Regions from separate parts of the Homo sapiens genome. Here regions 1, 2 and 4 are each linked to region 3. The links are contacts of gene promoters, found by promoter capture Hi-C in blood cells and fetal thymus (Javierre and others, 2016). All regions are on one chromosome and are shown on one strand. The core of a region is centred on a gene start or on the middle of the fragment in contact, and the rest is flanking DNA. Distances in the headings are between cores, read along the strand shown. Region 1 has its middle 12 kb from the start of PANK3. Region 2 overlaps SPDL1 (spindle apparatus coiled-coil protein 1). Region 3 holds the start of CCNG1 (cyclin G1). Region 4 holds the start of NPM1 (nucleophosmin 1).

Evidence for each region. The method cuts DNA at HindIII sites, captures the fragments that hold promoters and counts their contacts. A CHiCAGO score of 5 or more calls a contact.
Region 1: a fragment that was not itself captured here is called in contact with the fragment with the promoter of CCNG1 in region 3 in 1 of 17 cell types (non-activated CD4 T cells); the score reaches 5.5 in non-activated CD4 T cells.
Region 2: a contact is called between a fragment that was not itself captured here and the fragment with the promoter of CCNG1 in region 3, in 1 of 17 cell types (non-activated CD4 T cells). The highest score is 9.0, in non-activated CD4 T cells.
Region 4: a contact is called between the fragment with the promoter of NPM1 here and the fragment with the promoter of CCNG1 in region 3, in 1 of 17 cell types (non-activated CD4 T cells). The highest score is 13.6, in non-activated CD4 T cells.

Annotation. Positions count from the first base shown.
Region 1 is chr5:168,589,525-168,592,425 of GRCh38, reverse strand. No RefSeq gene overlaps it. Among named protein-coding and RNA genes, the nearest start is that of PANK3, 12 kb to the right of the region's middle. The HindIII fragment of the contact is 1,556 bases long and covers 540-2,095 here.
Region 2 is chr5:169,587,669-169,590,577 of GRCh38, reverse strand. It overlaps SPDL1 (spindle apparatus coiled-coil protein 1), which reads right to left. Exons shown (of 12, transcript NM_017785.5): 2 at 2,003-2,184. The coding sequence starts at 2,161. Among named protein-coding and RNA genes, the nearest start is that of SPDL1, 5.4 kb to the right of the region's middle. The HindIII fragment of the contact is 1,115 bases long and covers 1,102-2,216 here.
Region 3 is chr5:163,436,239-163,439,033 of GRCh38, reverse strand. CCNG1 (cyclin G1) reads right to left here and starts at 1,439. Exons shown (of 7, transcript NM_004060.4): 1 at 1,230-1,439. It also overlaps a transcript of LOC105377700 not described here. RefSeq lists enhancers at 875-1,074, 766-1,343, 1,785-1,834 and a silencer at 1,515-1,594. The HindIII fragment of the contact is 4,161 bases long and covers 1-2,704 here.
Region 4 is chr5:171,386,284-171,389,114 of GRCh38, reverse strand. It overlaps NPM1 (nucleophosmin 1), which reads right to left and starts at 1,266. Exons shown (of 11, transcript NM_002520.7): 1 at 1,109-1,266. The coding sequence starts at 1,166. MIR3912 (microRNA 3912) reads left to right here and starts at 2,355; the gene lies at 2,355-2,459. RefSeq lists silencers at 546-605, 926-985. The HindIII fragment of the contact is 7,200 bases long and covers 1-2,484 here.

The DNA of each region.
Region 1 (2,901 bases), core at 68-2,567, 5.2 Mb before region 3:
GCTCAACAAATAGCTGTCTTCATTGTTACTTGGTCATTGATATTGGTTGAGCTGGTGTTGACTGGCATGGCCTCAAATAATGAATAGGACTTCTAGGTAAGAGTACTAAGAATTCTATTAAGCATGCTGGGCAAGTGCCAGTTTGCCTTGTGCAACAGGCTCTGTGGCTGGATAACTCTGGAAGCAGAAATTCCAAACAGAGTCTAGCTATTTGTTTGGTTCCAGATAGAAATCACTCCAGTTCAGCTGCTATTGGAAACTTACTCATCTGCTAACCTTGAGGATCAGTGGCTGTGAAGGTAAACAGGAAAAAAGTAAACAAGGTAAAAGAGACAGACTTCTGTATCATGAGCGAGATCAGCCTTGCTCACAAAGGCTCAACTTCTCTAGAATGGACAGAGAATCTAGCTTGATTTTATATTAGCTAGTCATTTTTGCCAGTTAAATGTTAATTAAAAATTGACTTGCACAAAAACTGAAAGTTTGTGCTGAAGAACATCCATAGCAAAAGGTGGTGAGGCTCCTGCCACAAGGAAGCTTGTTATCTAGTAAATGCTATGAATTCACTCATTCTTACATTTATTCTCTCATTCCACCACCAGAATGCCTTCCCTTAGCTGGTTTCTTTGCCTCCTGTCCCGCCTAAGCTGTTATCTTTACCACAGCCAGAGTAAACTTTCCAAAATACAGTTCTAATCCTGACATTCCCCTGCTTTTAAATCTTTGGTGGGTCCCTTTTCCTTGAACAAAGTCCAAACTCTAACATGGTTCACAAGAAACTTTATGATCGGGCTTGAAACCTCCCAGTGGCTTTGAATTGCTTTTGAAATAGAATCCACACTCTTCCTTGTGTCCTACTAGGGAACTCAGGCAGCTTAAGGAACTTGCTTAAGTGGTAGAGCCCACTCTGACTGATTCCAAAGCCCATGCTCCAAACCAGAGCTGCTCAAAGCAGCTTTACAGTGAACTATTTGTTAATGGTCCAAGCCTAGGGCAGTGACAGCCTGGGTCAAAATGTAAATCAATGCAATGCTACCTTCATGGAGAAAGTCTTACTGTGAAGAAAATACCAGCTGAACTACAAACAGTATGATTAGTGATGCAGTTGACTTACCTCCTGCTCCATATCTTGTTGGAAGCCAAAAGCAGTCTGGGGATCAGCAGCCATCTGTGTACCACACTTTGAATAGCATTGCTCTAACCTGACCCCCACGCTGTACAGTAAGTCCTCACTTAACATTGTCAATAAAATCTTGGAAACGCAACTTCAAGCAAAACGATGTATAAGGAAACCAATTTGGCCATAGGCTAATTGATACTAACAAGAGTTAAATTCCTATGGCATAGTTCTGGTAACAGAATCATCACTAAACTTCTCATAAAGACTGAAAACACTTCTAAAAGTTAAACATTGAAACAAATGTGAGCTATACAGTCATTTAGGAAAGATTAATAAAAAGAGATAAGAGAATTATTTACCCAATTAATCCAGTTCAAGGTCCTGGGTGGCTGGGGCCTATCCTGGCAGCTCAGGGCACAAGGCAGGCACTAGCCCTGGACAGGACGTTATCCCATTGCAGAGCGCACTCACGCACACACCCACATTCACTCACACTGGGACCTTTCAGACACACCAATTAACCTCAGGTGTGCATCTTTGGGATAGTATCCTAGTGAGAGGAAAACAGAGTACCTGGAGAAAATCCATGCAGACTTGGGGAGAATGTGCAGACTCCACACAGACAGTGGCCCCAGCTGGGAAGAGATTTTTTTTTTCTCATCAACATAATGAAACGGCGTTGAAGGAAATGATGTTATTTGAAGACGTGCTGTTTTCTTACTCTTCTTATTCCTTAGCTGAGGTCTTCATATGAGGCACCTGATTTACTCCTGGCCCCTTCTTTCCTGCCTTCTGTGGACTTCTGCACAGGAACTGTCAGATAATCTGTATCATAGATGAAGAAGGGGTTTTAAAAAGTATATCCTACTTTTCAAAGCCAGCAAGAAAACCTTTTTTGGAATTATCCTCAGTTTGGGAATTTTCACAAGGCTCTAAGTTCCAGAAAGCTATTCTTGCTGGCTAGTTGGCTAAGCTTTCAGTAAAAGCCCTGATTTCCACAGCAGAACTGTGCAAACTATTCTTATATGCACTGGCCTCACAGCTAAGGCAGTGGCAGCCTCAAAAATCCTGAGATGCGGAATTCTATGATCCTGTCCTTATGTGCTCTTAGTCCTTCCTTATACTGCTGAGGAGCTCCCTAATCAGTCTTCCTCCATTCTCCATCACCATGGGCTTTCTACTAGCTTTTTCACTTCTAGCCTTACTGAATAGCCCCACCACACACACACACACACACACACACACACACACACGCACACACACACCATGCTAAGATCTTTAGTGGTAGCAGCCGTTAGGAAAGGTTTGCTTATTCATTCTTTTGTTTATTCAAATATTCGGTCGGAACTGTCTCTGTACCAGGAACTGTGTTAAAAGTTAGGAACACAATGGTAAACAATAAAAAAGACAGCCGCGCCCTCTGGGAGCTTTCTGAGCTGAGTGAGGATGTCAGACTAAATGACATCGTGATGAATGATATAAATAAAAGTATTAAAGTTCTATGAGGGCCGGGCACAGTGGCTCACACCTGTAATCCCAGCACTTTGGTAGGCTGAGGCGGGCAAATCAATTGAGGCCAGGAGTTTGAGACCAGCCTGGCCAAGATGGTGAAACCCTGTCTCTATTAAAAATTACAAAATTAGCTGGGTGTGGTGGTGCATGCCTGTAATCCCAGATATTCAGGAGGCTGAGGCACAAGAATCACCTGAACCCGGGGAACGGAAGTTGCAGTGAGCCGAGATAGCACCACAGCTTGGGCGACAGAGCAAGACTGTCTCAAA
Region 2 (2,909 bases), core at 410-2,909, 6.2 Mb before region 3:
AAAAGGTCTATCAGAATGAATGCAGAGCTGAGACAAAAGGAGTAATTAAAAGGGCTTTTGCTTACTCACAGGGAAGTTTAGACATTAAAAATGTTACAAGTACGAACTCCTTCAAGAGGCTTTAAAAAATGATAAAATATTCCCCTCAAAAACCATTTTATTTTAAAGGAAGACAAAGAGTATTAACTGTTAAACACTGAAATTTGACAAGTTATGACTCAAAATGATTAAGTATAACAGTTTTATTTTCTATTAGTGATATTTGTAATCTTTACTTTGCCTTTATGACTTTGCACTCAGTTCTTGGTTTACAACAGTACTATGTAGAAACACAAAGGTTGCCATCACTAGTTATTTTTACCTGCTACAGATATTTTTTACCTGCCATATTTACAATGTTGAGATTCAAGTTTAAATATGTTACTGAGCATTTGCTAAATTACCCAGATTTATTCATTCATTCTTTTAAGAAATAATCGTGTGGCAGGCATTCAGGATAGTGAACAAGGCATACAAAATTCCCTCTCTCATGGAGTTTATAATCTAGAGATAATTAGCAATGCAGATAATTAAGAGTGGAATCAGGGCCGGGCACAACGGCTCATGCCTGTAATCCCAGCACTTCGGCAGGCAGATTACGTGAAGCCAGGAGTTCAAGACCAGCCTGGTCAACATGGTGAAACCCCATCTCTACTAAAAACACAAAAATTAGCCGGATGTGGTGGCACACATCTGTAACCCCGAGCTACTCGGAAGGCTGAGGTAGGAGAATCTCTTGAACCCAGGAGGTGGAGGATGCAGTGAGCCAAGATTGCGCCACTGCACTCCAGCCTGGGCGACAGAGTGAGACCCTGTTTCAAAAAAAAAAAAGAAAAAAGAAAAAAAAAGTGAATCAGGGCAACTTTACATTACATAGTAAGGGCTGACCTCTCCGCTGAAGTGACATTTAAATGAAAGCTGAAATCTGAGGACTCAACCCAAGAGCAGTGAGGGGTAAACAACTCAAAAAAAAAAAAAAGGCAATAGCTGGTGTAAAGCCCATAAGGGAGGACCAGTATAGTCAAGAACAAGGCAAAGCAGTTTGAGGTGAGGTCAGAAGCTTGGCAGGGGTCAGGTCACATAGGGATCTACAAACCCAAGGATGGAGCTCAGATTTTGTTGTAAATAAAATCAGAAGCTGTTGTATGGTTTTTAGCAGGGCTGTGGCATGACCTTTGGTGTGTTATTCCACGACCACTTAGACGCTGAGTGAAGAATGAATGGCATGAATGGCAACAATGGAAGCAGGCAACCCGGCCAGAAGGCTACAATACTTGTCTAGGAGTGATGATGGTGATCTGGACTACAGTGCCAGTAGCAAAGATACATGCTTTGTAGTCTAGTTCTTAGAACTTATTAATGAGTGAAATGTGAGAAATAAAGGGAAGATATTGACTAAAAGTTCTAGATTTTTGGTATATAAAGAAACCAAAAATATACCAAAAATCTTTGGTATATAAAGATTTTTGGTGTTCAAGAAACTGAATGCTATTATATTTACTAAATAAGCTAAAAAAAATCGTAAAAGAATATTTGGTTAACGGACAGGGAATCCACTCTTCTGTCTGTGTTAAGTTTGAGAAGTCTATTAGTGGGCAGTTGAACACAAACCTAGATTTCATGGGGGAACTAAGGGCTTGGTGTAGTGTCATGGGGCACTTAGATGTTTAGAGGTCTAAAACAAGTGAGGTCTTCTAGGAAGTGTGCAGACAAAGCAAAATCTGGTAGTAAATGTGGCAAAGAGAGTAATGATAACTTGATCTTTCAAACTCTGAATACACTAGGGTGGAAAGAATAACAGGAATTCATTTAGTTCATTCTTTTTTAACAGGGACGGGGCAGGGCGGGAACTAGATCTAAAATCTTCAGAAAAGAATAAACTACTACTACTATTAATTGCTAAACAGGACAAATCTTCAATAGCTAAGCACACTCTTGCAGACAGAGGAGTCCAGAGTCCTACCTCAGTCATGGTCATCATTTCATTACGACATTTATCCAATTGATTCTGTAATTCATTTTGACTCTCTACTAGTTGTAAACCATACTGTGCAGCTTTTAGTCGCTCTTCTTCAGCCTCTTTGAGCCTGCATCGAAGATTTGTGATTATATCTGCCTCCATGTTCTTTTCTTTTTTTTAGCCAACTGTAAATAGAGGAAATAAAACTACTTAAGCTTATACAAAAAACTCCATGCAATAATATCAATAACAGAAGAAACATATCTACTCAATACTACTGTCGTATAAAAACATTAAAATTTTCTTCCTGACTAATAAGTAGTCAAATTTGCATTCTTGTTCCAAGAGCAAGAACTGTTCTGACAATTCTGTTACTGATTTGGGATCAAAAATTAAAGAGTGGAATAGAATACATTTAATTTTGCTTCTAAACAGTTCACCATCAGAAAACTGTTCAGTTGTTGTATGCTAAGCTTCCAATATGTTAAGGTAAGTTTGGTCTCATAATTGGACCACTATCCATATAATCAAAATTAAGGGAATAACAAAAAAGTAATCAAGAAACCTCATAGTAGCAGGTATGGTGGCTCATGCTTGTAATCCCAGCAACTGGGGAGGATTACTTGAGGCCAGGAATTCGAGACCAGCCTGAACAACATAGCAAGACTCCATCTCAATCAATCAATCAATAGAAATAAGGTGGGGATGGTGGCAAGCCCCCGTAGTCCTAGCTACTTGGGAGGCTAAGGAAGGAAAATTGATGGAGTTAGAGGCTTCAGTGAGTTATGATCATGGCACTGACAGAGCAAGACACTGTCTTGAGAAATAATAATGATAATAACAATAATACCACCAGAAAAGGAAGGTCTGGGTACTATAAACACATAAAATATAAAAAGGCAGCTGTGAA
Region 3 (2,795 bases), core at 190-2,689:
TTTTTTTTTGAGAAGGAGTCTCGCTCTGTTGCCAGGCTGGAGTACAGTGGCACGATCTTGGCTCACTGCAACCTCCGACTCCCTGGTTCAAGCGATTCTCCTGCCTCAGCCTCCCGAGGAGCTGGGATTACAGGCATGCGCCACCGCGCCCAGCTAATTTTTATATTTTTAGTAGAGACGGGGTTTCACCATGTTGGCCAGGATGGTCTCGGTCTCCTGGCCTTGTGATCTGCCCGCCTCGGCCTTCCAAAGTGCCGGGATTACAGGCGTGAGCCACCGCGCCCGGTCGGAACCATGCTTTTTAGAAAAATAAAATGCAAATCTTCAAGAAATACTTGTTCAAGTTATTCACTGTCAATAGATAACCACGAATAAACACCGTAAGACAGGATACCGAAAGTGAAAAGCAGATGGTAGTTAAGTATTCTGCCACATATTAACAAAATGAACTGTTCAAGTTACTTAATTGTACTTAGTTCCACATTGATAAAGTAGGGATAAGGTTTATGACCTACCTCACAGATTTGTGAGTTAAAATGAAATCACGTAAAGAGCTTAGCACATACAGTAGACGCTTAAAAAACACTGAACAATAATAATGAGCTTGAGCTTCTTTCTAGATTTATAAAATGAGGGTAACAATATCTGTCGCTGAATGTGAAGACTGAACAAGATGATTCACCACTTAAAGAGTATAGCACAGTGCTTGGCACACAATACTCAATATTACTTAACTTTTATTGTTGTTAGGAAAGGAAACTTAAAAGGTGACATTAGGAGCACGTATTGGGGCGGGGGGGTGCGGTGGGTTGTTGCTAACCTAGTCTGAAAGATGAACCTGGGAATTCCATTGATTTAAGTGTGCATAACACAACCATGTCCCGGGCACAAGCTAAGCCCTGGATACATGGAAGGTCCCTCCCACACCAACTAAAGACAGGAAGGCAGGAGGTCTTCAGAGCTAGTCATGTGAGGAACCTCTAACTGCAGGGGTTCCATTCTTCCTCCCCAGGCTAGTCCCTGGGACTGGGTCGGCAGACACGAAAGGCACCTCAGGAGGCCGGATCCGGCTCCGCCCCTCCAGCCTCGGACTAGCCTGGGCTTGTGCTCACAACAGCGGTAGAGTTTAGTGTGGAAAAGGGCGCGGGCCAGACCTACTCCTCGCCCCGCGCCCCCAACCCAGCTCCCCACCCGCACCTGGCGGTCAACTCCCGCGCAGTCCCACTCACCTTGACAGAGACTGCAGCTCCTCAGCGGTAACCACCCTCCCCGGGCCTGCTCACCTCACCCCACGATATCAGATCCGAGAGGCCTACGAGGAGAGGGGACTCGTAGGCAAGAGGAGAGAGGCCCGGGGAGGGGGACTGTCCTGGGTGGAGGCCTCGGCAGCGCCGCCGAGACAACTCGGCCCTGATCAGGGTCAGCTCGGAGCCGAAGGGGCCGCGCCTGCCCTAACGAGGAATATATTGGAGGGCGGGGCTTTCTCGCGAGAAGGGGGCATTTTCGCCGCTGATTGGTGTAATTCTTTTGATGGATGGCCTCCGCGATCCGTAAACGGCTGGGCCGTGGAGTGAGAAGTCCGGCCAATCGGCTCACACTTCCCGTTATCTGGCCTCAAATTCCCCGGCCCCCTTCCACGCCCCTACCTCTAAGCGTCTCTCATTGGAGAATTTAACAAAGTGTCTTCATTCAGTAGGGGGCCAAACTAAATACTCGGTGCAGCAACCCTCGCCTGGGTCAGGTCAATCGGCTGCCAGCCGGATTGGCCGGCGTATCATTCCAGAATGTACTGTTTGTTCTGTGGGGTTTAGGAGTTCTACAGTGGTTCTGCCCCATCTTTCTAAAAATACAGTGAGTAGTTAAAAAAAAAAAAGTCAACCTTTGATTTTTAATTACAGATAAAGAGGTGGTGGAATTTATATGGTTTGGTGGTTTATCAACTTCCAGAGTGCTCTCTTCGTGAACTTTGGAAGTCAGTTGATTCTTGCCTTAGTTTGCTTTTTATACAATTTATCAAATAATGGAGTTGGACTGTGTAATTTCTTGACCCTCTACCAATTTTCTGAATTTGCTTTTAAAGCAAATTTAAAGAGAAAAGTTGGTACAATTTTTCAGTTGCTTAAAATGAAAGGTATGTGGCAGACTGTTAACAGGAATAATTGTGGTGAGTGTGAATCTCAGTCTACAGACCCGAGTGTAAAGCAGTATTACTCTTTGTATTTACCATAATGAATTTAATCTCTGTGAGCCTCTCCTATGCCAGATTAGTGGGAAAATAATTAGCCTGAACTCTTCTTAGACTCTCCTCACTCTCACTCTCCCAGATCATCACAAGTGAGAAAAGTCCATTTGTAAAAGGGCCTGAAAAAGGGTGCACAAGGAGTCATTTCTAAACTCTTATGAATTACACAGTAGTTGGATGTCTCTGTTCTCATGGCCCCAGTTCGGTCTCTCTTACTTTGAAAAAGTGAAAATCTGAAAGATTTGCCGTCACTCTGCTATTTGCCCTGCCGTGTACTTACCCAAGGCAATGCCACAGAACAAAACTCTGGAAAGGGGGAAAAGGGGTGGGGAGGAAGGGGAAGGAAAAACAGGAGAAAACATCAATACCTCACAATAATACCTTAGCCACATAATCAGGTCAGTTTAAGAAACTGGGGCTCAAATGGGGAAGAGGCCTTTGTTCCTTTTGAAAATAAAAGCTTACCTAGTGAATATAAATTGGCAATTTATAACCTTTAACAAGTGATTTTATTTAAAAATACTTTTTGCTGTAATGTGTGAGTTTATAAATG
Region 4 (2,831 bases), core at 17-2,516, 8.0 Mb before region 3:
GACTACCGCAAGTCGAGGGGGGTGGTGCTCCCAAAATTCTGCGAATAGTCTTAGGTCTTGATCTGACTCAAACCGAACACTCTACGTGTTTCTTGTATTTAGAAAAGCAGTTTGGTCAATGCCGCACAAATGGCGGCATGCGAGGACGTCCCCCTAAAACGAAGCCTCATTAATATTCACGAAGCAGCAGCTACGGAGTCAAGCGTCTTGGTTTAGATTTAGTCTCTTATTGCCTTTACTAAGTACAACCTTCGTTAAGTGAGTTTATCTCTGGGCACCAGTATCCTCATCTGCAAAGTGGGGCTAGCTCCACCTACCGCAGTGAGACAGAAAAGGGGCTCAAAAAAATGAGAGCTGCCATCACAGTACATGCTGTAAGCACTGAACAAAGACCTCCAGAACCCTAGTGCTACCAGCCTCTTAACATTTCCCACTTCAACAGAGCCACAGCATCCCTGGCTCACGAGTGGCAACACGCCGGTGAGTCCCGGATGTAGCGCCCACACCCCCCTCCCTCCCCCAACCACGTGGCAACCACGTGCTCCCAGCGGTTGCGGCCTCCTCACGCCGCGCCGCGCCTCCCCACCCCCAGTAACTGGCCGAAGCACGCGAGGTAAGTCTACGTCCGGCAGCTCCAGGCTCTGAGGCCAGAATAACGCCAGGCTGTGCATCTACCCGCTCCAACAAGCAGGCCCATGCTTCCCGGTGAACCCAGCCTCCAGGACCACCAACCCGGGGCCTGGCATCAGAAGCCTATGAACCACCGCCGTTAGAAAATAAACCACGCCTGGAGCTCCGCCACGTATCCCCGGCAAAGGCCGAACTTCCAGGCGGCCGGTTCCACTTTACCTCAGGCCCCGGGCCTCGGACCGCTCACGCCCCAGACGCTTCAGGCCGCTCGTCTCCTCCCCCTTCACGCCACCGGCTCCCCCCGCGGCTCCAATCCCTCCAGGTCCAGGGCTCAGGCAGCTCTTCCCACCCGCTCAGGCCTCCCGTCGGTCTGGCGGTCTCCACCAGACCCGGTTGCAGCCGGATTCCCGCCCCTCACCCCCACCCTCACCGCCACCAGGCCCCGCTCGGCCTCGCTCCAGCTCCCCCCAGCAGTTACCGAAAAGATAGTTCTGGGGCCTCAGGGGGCTCATGTCCATGTCCATCGAATCTTCCATCGGGTGGCGGCACGCACTTAGGTAGGAGAGAAGGCGGACGGAGATAAAAGAACGCTGCTCCAGAGAACAACCGCGCAGGACGGAATCACACCAGGGAAAGGACGCAGGCTCCCCGCGCTTATATATAGACCCTGAAGATCTCGCGAGCGCTTCCCAAGTCCCGCCTCCGCGCGCGTGCTCCGAAGCCCTCCCACCCCCGTACCGTAGCCGTCCTGCGCAAGCGCTTTTCAACCCCACTCCTTTCTACCTCGCCCCCACCTCCTTCCAGGTACTCCGCGGGCTCCCACCGAGCACGCGCACTCGTACACTGGCCCCACCCCTCCGCTGCTGTCGCCTGTGCGCACGCGTGCTTTCCAGTCGTAACGCGCACTCCCCACCTCCAACCCTTCCACGTCCTCTCCCGCTCAAGCGCGCCGGCCTCCCGCCAAGAGTCTGCGCAGCCCACCCTGCAAAATGGCGTCGGCAGCCCTTAGCTGTGTAAGATATGGCGGGTTAGCCGGCTGCGAATGAGCCAGAGAGCACCTCGATTCACCTTTCCCCATCCCCTAGTGCCCTGCAAGCCTCCAAACAGGCGTAATCACTTCAGGAATTTTTTACTTGCCTGAAGGCTTCGGATCGCAGTTAATCGTTACCCCAAAGTTCAGGTGCCAGAGAGAGTGAATTGCGGCTTATTCTTTGTTAGGAAGGAAAGATGTAGTTACCGGCCAGACTTACGGAACTTTGTTTTTCAGCTCTGTCCTTCCTGAGAAAACATCTCCAAAGTCCTTATCTTTACGTAACTTGGGGGCCAAAAGGGGACTGAATCAGTCTCCAAATTAGCAAGGACATCGCCCTAAGAGAGCTCGGAGGGTGGGCCGACTCTGACTTCTTGCCGCTCTTAATCTTTAACATTCCTCCTGAAAGAAAGCGGGTGACTTGTAAGAACTACAGAAGCCTTAATTCGAATATTTGGGAGCGAGCATGGGAATTAACGTTTTAAGCTACACCTTGACAAACTCCGAGGCACCCCAGCACCCCGCGGGCATTGGGGCGTTCTGAAGACCCGTAATCTTTTTTTTTTAAGCCTCAACATATCAAACAAATTTAAGAAGTGAGGAATACAAATGATAGCCTCAGAAAGGAAGACACCCCCACCCCAAGGCATTATTTCTTACAGGAAAATTATAGAGACGATTTCAGTGTCTATCAAGAGAGGAATGAACAGTTAAATTATAACATGTCCATATTATGGGTTAGTTGTGGACACATACTAACGCATAATATGGACATGTTATAATTTAACTGTTCCTTTCTGAGAGCTCCTGTGTCACATAAAGCTTTGAGTCACTTAAATTTGTTATGCCTTTTTTTGTGTGTGTGTGGAGACAGAGTCTCGCTGTGTTGTCCAGGCTGGAGTGCAGTGGCGTGATCTCCGCTGGATGCAACCTCCGCCTCCCGGGCTCCCGAGTAGCGAGGACTACAGGTGCATGCCACCACGCCCGACTAATTTTTGTATTTTAGGAGGGATGGGGTTTCGCTGTGTTCTCCAGGCTGGGCTCAAACTCCTGACCTCGGGTGATCCGCCTGTCTCTGCCTTCCAAAGTGCTGGGATTTCAGGCGTGAGCCACCGCACCCAGCCAGCATTTTTTTTTTTTTTAAACGGGGTCTCGCTCTCTTGCCCAGGCT